2 separate regions of the Homo sapiens genome follow, and region 2 is linked to region 1. The links are contacts of gene promoters, found by promoter capture Hi-C in blood cells and fetal thymus (Javierre and others, 2016). All regions are on one chromosome and are shown on one strand. The core of a region is centred on a gene start or on the middle of the fragment in contact, and the rest is flanking DNA. Distances in the headings are between cores, read along the strand shown.

Region 1 (3,818 bases), core at 1,224-3,723:
ATTAGCCTTCATTTAATGGTTTGAAAGCCAAGGCCAGGTCTTTTTTTTTTTTTTTTTTTTTTTTTTTTCCCATTCAGAGGCAGCCTTTCCAGCAATGTGGGGCCAGGGAATGGATGTCTATGAAGTCTATTGAAGTGGCCTAAGAGAAACAATAAGCTGATTTCAAAGCATATACAGCAATTTTAAAAGAATGTACAATAGTGTATCATCTTTCACTAAGTCACAAATGCCAATCACCAATTCATTTAACTCTGTATTTCCTCTAGGTTCTCAGGAAAACATTTACTTTCTTTCATCTATAGCAATTTTAGGCACAAAAAGCTACATGCTTGGCCTGACCATGGTCCTCCGATGACAAGTTGTTGGTCTTTAAAAGCACATTTTGCTAGTTACTGACATTACTGAGCTTACTTAAAAGAGAGCTACCTTGTTATTCTCTGAGAGTATCCCAAGCCACCTTGTTTACCTACCATTACAATGTTTAGTATGATAAGCCCGCATATAAACCCTAGCTTGTCCCAGGCACTCTTGTAAGCTGATTGCATTTATTCACTCATTACTCTGCAAAACAACTTTACTACTATGATCCCCATTTCACAGATGAGGAAACAGGCACAGAAAGAGGATGAGTAAAAGTAAAGCTGGTAAGTTCCAGAGTCAGGATTCGGACCTAGGTGCTCCTGAGACCATGTGCCTAACTACTAGCCAGCTTGCCTCACACCTTTGTCCTCCTCCACCTCCTCCATACCTGTCTGCCCACCCCTTGCCCCGATCTTTCCTTTTCATGGCCAGAGAAAGATCCTGCTGCCTCACTCTAAAATCATCTCCCAAATCAACGAAGCTAAATTTCTTCCAATTGGGATGAAACCACCTTAATGTTCTTTCTTAATTCTTTGCACACTCTAGCTGATACTGATTATTCACTTATTGGCTAGCCCCTGCTATTCCATGCTTTGATCAGACACACCCATCTCTTAATGTTCTGTTTTCTTCTCTCTGAATTCCTGAACAGAATATTTACAAATATAAAGTCCAACAAGAAAATGGTGTGATCTAAATGGGGTTTCGGAAACATAAATCTGGTGGTGGCATCTGAGGAGGGAAAGGGAGGGTGTGTGGGTGAGAAAATGGGTGTGTAGAACTGTTAGAAACTTCCACTTTTGAAGTCACAAAATGCTGTAAGAGCTTTGGGAATGGAAAGGAAGGGGTGGATTCAAAATGCATTTTAGAAAGAACAATGGGTTGGACTTGTGGGCAATTGCCTCTAGGGATAAGGTAGAGAAGGGAGTTAAAATGATACCGCTATTTTGGGCTCAAATGATTATAATGAGAGTTTCATCACCTGAAATAGGTACATCAGGAAGCTAATCTGATTCAGGGAGAACAAAAAGTTCATTTTAGAATCTTTGTCATCATCCCTGTTCAACAGTTGGAAGCCACCATAAGTGAGCATTTAATGAGCCCCATTCAAGTGTCTAACAGAGCATATGATGTTAAATGTCCAACAATAATTAACTGAAGGTGAATACACCTTTTATTCTGGCCCCACGGAGGTGCCTACCAGGGTATTTGATGCGTAAGATCCTCCCCAGCCCTCCTCTACAGGGATGGAATTGGGGGTATGATTTGAATGTAAGAAATACGACTTAAGGCCGGGCACGGTGGCTCACACCTGTAATCCCAGCACTTTGGGAGGCCAAGGCAGGCAAATCATCTGAGGTCAGGAGTTTGAGACCAGCCTGGCCAACATGGTGAAACCCTGTCTCTACGAAAAATACAAAATTAGCATGGCATGGTGGAGCGCGCCTTTAATCCCAGGTACTCAGGAGGCTGAGGCAGGAGAATCGCTTGAACCCAGGTGGCGGAGGTTACAGTGAGCCCAGACCATGACATTGCACTCCAGCCTTGGCAACAAGAGCGAAACTCCATCTGAAAAATAAAGAAATATATATAAATAAAAATTAAAATAAATAAAAGAAGAAATACCACTTACTACATAGCCTAACCCCACGCAATAGCAAATATATTTTCTTTATCACACCTAAAAATCGTCAGAAAATGGCAAAATTAGTCATGTTATGTGCTTGATTTCCAGATTTGGTCTTACTTCATATTAATTTCTTAAGTAACCAACTCAAACGATCTTGAACTCCCACCCATTTGTTTCTTCAAAGTCCTGAACAATGCCAGAAGAGAGTCTACAGATCAGACAGTGCAAACAGAAAGCTTCTTGGAATTCAGCCATTAAAATCAGGCACTCAAGGTAGAATAGCAGGAGTAAAAGCTGAAAGACCTACACACTCAGCACAGAGCCAAGGCAGCTCAATCGCAGGGCCTAGAGTGGTGCGTTCAAAGAGTGTGAGATTGGTAGACAATCGCTCATGAAACAGTGTTTCGAAAATCTAAGCGACTCTGATGATTCATATTAGGAATTCATCCCAAACCTCAGATTGGTACACCTTCCTTGATTTCACACAAGCTCAGGAGTAGCTGCCATGCACATCAGTGTCCATTAAAATGACTTGTAGCAAATCTCTACGTTCAAAGTCTAACTTTGACAGACAACCTTACTTCCAGCGAAGTCTACTCCCCTCCCTCCGGAGGGAAGAATGGGCTGCGGTTAAGCGTTTGCCCTGGTGTCAGGGCCAACTGCTTCGAAGCGCCAGACTTTCGGAGACTGTGGGTAAGAGAAAAAAAAAATCCAGTCCGGGTTTTGTCTGAGCGGGGGGACCGGAGGGTTGTGAGGAATGGCTCGCGAAGAGGGGGGCGGTGGTGGAAAACATACAACACAAACAGCTCGCGCCGAGGCACGGCAGCGGTAGGCCCGGAGCGCGCGGGCGCAGCCGGCCGGGAGAGGCGCGCGCGGGCTCGGCCGCCGGCCGCATGGAGCGCAGCGCGGCCCGCGGCTCCCGGGCGGCGGCGGCGGCGGCGGAGGCGGCAGCGCGCCGCTCGCTCACACCCACCCCCGCCCGCGGCCGCCGCGCCGCCCCGCCGTAGCCGCCGGCCGCCGGCGTCCCCGCCGGCCGGTCCAGCGAAGGCGGCGCCCGCGCCTCTGCAGCCAGTGGCAGCCGCGGGTCCTGGCCGGCGGCTCCTGCAGCCCCTTGCGGCCGCGAGTCCCCGGCCCTGCGGCCACCGGCGGAGGCAGAGGAGGAAGAGGAGGTGACAAACTCTCCGGCCCCGCGCCGCGGCCCGCAACCCCGCGCTCAGGCATGCAGGCGCGGCGTCTAGCCAAGCGCTCCAGCCTGGGCAGCCGCCGGGGGGGCGCCGCGCTGCAGCCTGCCGGGCCGGCGCCCGCGCCCGCCAAGGAAGCCGCCCTACCCGGGCTCCCGCCCCCTGTCCCGGGCCCGGCCCCGGCGCCCGCCCCGGAGAGCTGGAGGCCGCCGCTGCCGCCGCCGCCGCGCAGCGCCGGGACCGGCCCCCCTCGGGCCACCGGGGCCGCCGCCGCCGCCTCGTCGCCGGTGCTGCTGCTTCTAGGGGAGGAAGACGAGGACGAGGAGGGCGGGAGCAGGCGGCGGAGGGGGCTCGGGCGTGTGGAGGAGAAGCCCCGAGGGGGCGCGGAGGAGGAGGATGACGACGAGGAAGAGGAGGACGAGGAGGTGGTCGTCGAGGTGGTGGACGGCGACGAAGACGACGAGGACGGCGAGGAGCGTTTCGTGCCCCTCGGACCCGGCCACGCAGTCCCCAGGGGCCCGGCCCGGGGCGCGTTGAAGGTGCGTGTTGGGCGCGGTGGCGCGCGTGGGACCCGCCAGCCCGGGGAGGGGGACGGGCCCGGGCCCCGGGGCAAGGCGCCTGGCCGAGGACGGTCAGCGGCGCCGGGG
Region 2 (4,198 bases), core at 717-3,216, 380 kb after region 1:
CCTAGCATGGTGGCATGTGCCTGTAGTCCCAGCTAATCAGGAGGTTGAGGCAGAAGAATCACTTGAACCCAGGAGGCGGAGGTTGCAGTGAGCCCAGATCACACCACTGCACTCCAGCCTGGGTGACAAGTGAGACCCCATCTCAAAAAAAAAAAAATTCTTCAATGTACCCTGATTATATACTGCTACCATGTTATCTGTGTCTTTTTTCGGTCATGTCTGTCTCTCCTTACTAAACTACAAGTTCCTTGAGGGCAGAGAGAATGAATGTTAACAAAACATACAGATTTTTATCTCCAGTGCTTTGCCAACCTAATACAGCTAAATTTAAGATGGAGAAGGAAGCTAATCCTAGGTACACAATAAGGTATACAGTCAGACACTGCTAACAAGTTTGAAAAGCACAAGGGCTATGAACTAGCTGTTACTGAATAAAACACAAAGAATAAATTATAAATAATGTAAAATATATAAATAAGAAACAACGGAATTTAATGGGCTACAGGCTCAACTCTAATCGATTTTTCCTCAGTGAAAGGTCTTTCAGACTTTCTTCCTAAAGTGTTAAAAACCAACCAAGTAACCAACCAACCAACCTTCCGCCCTTATTTCTGCCATAAACAAATTAGGCTGATAGATCTGCCTTACATTCTTTTGTTTGCTCAGCTACTGACATCAATATATTCCAACTGGAAATTTCAATCAGATCACTGGTCTGAATTCATTACTTAGTTTCTGTAAAGGTTAACTAAATTTACAACAATAATACATTTGGATGCATGTTTCTCCCAGGAAGAGTTGACAGGATGTGTGATTTAGGCTATGAAAATTTCACAATTAGGTAGAAAGTGGTCTAAACCAAGAATAACTGGTAATCACTGTTATTAAGGAATTTTAAAGTCTTCTGGGCCAAATGGTCAGATACTGAATGAGCTAATCATTAAACCTGACTCTGACGATGTAGTCAATTGTTACTCAAAATTAAACTATTAATTGTCCCTCACATCCTTATAAATACAGGGACACCTCGGAAATAGAAGGCTCAAAACACAGACTCAGAAAGCATGTTTTAAAAGACTTTCCCATGAACAGTCCACAATAACCAAGGTCCAATTAACAGAAGGATTAACTTTTTGGTAACTACCAAGGGATTAACAAAAAGATACTTTTCTTACTTAGAGGAAAGTAACCTTTCATGACATACAGTTATGCATCACTTAACGAGAGGGATATGATCTGAGAGATGCATCGATTTTGTCACTGTGCCTTAGCGTACACAAACCTAGATGGTATAACCTACTACACACCTAGGCTATATGGTTGGGCCTATTGCTCCCAGACTACAAATCTGTACACTATGTTACTGTAAGGAATACTTTAGGCAACTGTAACACAATAGTATTTGTGTATCTAATCTATCTAAACATGAAAAAGGTACAGTAAAAATATGGCACACCTTATAGGGCACTCACCATGAACAGAGCTGGCATACCTGGAAGCTGCTCTGGGTGAGTCAGTGAGTGGTGACTGAATGAAAGGCCTAGGACATTACCATACACTGCTGTAGATTTTATGAGCACCGTACACTTAGGCTACACTAAGTACAGACAGGGTCTCACCATGTTGGTCAGGCTGGTCTCGAACTCCTGACCTCAAGTGATTCACCCACCTCGGCCCCGCAAAGTGCTGGGATTACAAAACAAAGTACGCTACAACTTTACGCTATCACCAGGCGATAGTAATTTTTCAGCTCCGCTATAATCTTATGGGACCATTATCATAAATGCAGTCCATCCTTGAGAACGTCATGCAGTACATGACTGTGTTAAGATGTGGCCAAATTCCTCTCAGAAACGGGACTCTTTGAGAAATAATTGGGAAAATAGGAGTTTAGTACTCCTAGACTCAAAGTGATTTCTTGCCTAAAGAATTCTAAAACTCTCATTTCCATGTTTTTAAGACAAGATATTAAGAGTGTCTTTGTGAAGCTGAGAAAAACTGCATGTATGAGAAATAGGCTCAGAATGTTCAAAGAACCTGATGGCCACAAAGTCTCTGAAGGTATAAAAAGGAGAACTGATTGGTGATCAAAATGAGTAATAACGGCCAGGCTCAGTGGCTCACACCTGTAATCCCAGCATTTTGGGGAGGTCAAGGTGGGAGAATTGCTTGAGCCCAAAAGGTTGAGACCAGCCTGGGCAACATAGCGAGACTCCCGTTTCAACAAAAAACTTAAAAATTAGCCAGGAATGGTGGCGCGCACCTGTAGTTCTAGCTACTCGGGAGGATGCCTGAGCCCAGGAGGCTGCAGTGAGCCTTTATCTCACCACTGCACTCCAGCCTGGGCAATAGAGTCACTGTCTCAAAAAAACAAAACAAAAAGGTAATAATGATAATAAATAACGGCACTAAGTGGTTTTATGCTGGCACATATACTTTGCATACATAACGAAACTAGAAGTTAACTAATTTGCCTGCCTAAAAAGTAGAGATTTAAGAGCAAAGTCCTCTGACCTTAAGCCCAAGTAGGCGCTTACATTACGTGTTGTGTTATACTGCCTCCTATAGGTAATTGGAGACTGAAGAAAAACGAAAAACAAAATGATTGCACTCTGCCCAAAAGAGATCAGGAACCTGTTACTCATGTTACTCATGTTAAGACAAACAGGTATTTATATAGGTGGTACCTGGGGGGTTGATAACAAGATATCCCCTCAAGATTAGTTATAATGAAAGTAATAAATGATTAAGATCAATTCAAAGTGAAAACACCCAAAATCCAATCAAGGAGACCAATATATAACCTTAGGACACACAGGACTTACTAAAACTGTAGCCCTTAATATATGTATATTGTATAGAATGTCCCAAAGAAAGGAGATGGCCTGCAGATTACATTGATGGGGGAATTTAAAGGAGTGATGAGGAAGAGAGTCGTAGTTCGGGTCAAGTTTAGAAAGGTTTTTCCTAGGAATTCCAAGACGCAGATACATACCCAGAGGAGAAGAATACACTCAAGCTGAGGCTACCTTAAGGTTATCCAATTAATGCCCCTTCTTCTGATTTCAGGTTCACTAAAGGAGCTAATTATAATTTGCATTCCCATTCAGATTTGCCTACAGGGAGAGACTATGCTGATAAAGAGGAATTGGTCCACAGCCGATTAAGAAAATTCATCCCATTTAAAATTTTCTAAGTAACCAACATAGCCCTATTTGGAAAATTAAACTTTCATTTTCACAAGTCCCTTGCAACTCCATCATCTTACTACATAACTTCAGGAATGTTACTTAACCCTTTAAGGCTTTAGATTCCTCTTCTGTAAAATGGGAACAAAAAATAAATACTTTGCAGAATAAATGTGTTTGGCACACGGAAAACCAGGAGCTGTTAGTTCCATTTCACTCTATTGCCCAAGCTCACAAAGCTAGTTAATTGCAGAAAGCTGAGATCTGAACCCAGATTTACTCCAAATCCATTCTTTTTCCATTACGACATTCCTTACAGGCTCTAGTCTCAGTTGGGTCACCCCAGACTCTTAGGACTATTTACTTAACCTTTCTCGGCCTTGTATCTTTAAATGACCTTCCTTCTAGGGCTTAGGCAACTAAAATGTGTGCAAAACAACAACAAAAACCCTACTACATTGTCCACTGGGGCGGGGGCGGGGGATCACCCTGTGCTTTAAAGTTAAAGCCCTAACTTCTGAGAAACATGGGTGCTGTGTCTGTGGGGTTACTGGTGCGCCTAATTAACCCCAGGGTAAGTGTGCTGAACGGCAGAATCATTCCAATAAACAGAATACTAAGAGCTAACTTTATAAAATCAACGACTGGCTAACCAATACGAAAGAATGAATTCCATCCACCACCACAGGTTGCCTTAAAGTCAAAAAGGAGGACTGATCAACATCTGTTTGGCTTGAACACAGATTATCAAAATAGTAAGGCTTACTATCTTTAGACTGGAAATGTTAAAACAAGGACTAAGAACTAAAATACAGCTTACTTGTTTTGTAAGCACTTTCACGGTGTTTGGTAAATAAATTCCCTACCAATCCAAATCCACTACTTGATACAAATAACTACACATTAAACATTTCTAATGCTAAGCTTAAAGTACTTATTGGAAACTGCATTTAAAAATCTTTCTGAAAAGGAACAGTACAAAAAGAAATCTCAGCACAAAAATCTGAGTA

Evidence for each region. The method cuts DNA at HindIII sites, captures the fragments that hold promoters and counts their contacts. A CHiCAGO score of 5 or more calls a contact.
Region 2: a contact is called between a fragment that was not itself captured here and the fragment with the promoter of ZNF704 in region 1, in 1 of 17 cell types (fetal thymus). The highest score is 6.3, in fetal thymus.

The regions. Positions count from the first base shown.
Region 1 is chr8:80,873,436-80,877,253 of GRCh38, reverse strand. It overlaps ZNF704 (zinc finger protein 704), which reads left to right and starts at 2,473. Exons shown (of 9, transcript NM_001033723.3): 1 at 2,473-2,683. RefSeq lists a silencer at 3,594-3,794. The HindIII fragment of the contact is 1,917 bases long and covers 2,229-3,818 here.
Region 2 is chr8:80,488,444-80,492,641 of GRCh38, reverse strand. The region is part of intron 1 of ZBTB10 (zinc finger and BTB domain containing 10); the gene reads right to left. Among named protein-coding and RNA genes, the nearest start is that of ZBTB10, 4.3 kb to the right of the region's middle. The HindIII fragment of the contact is 4,296 bases long and covers 1-4,114 here.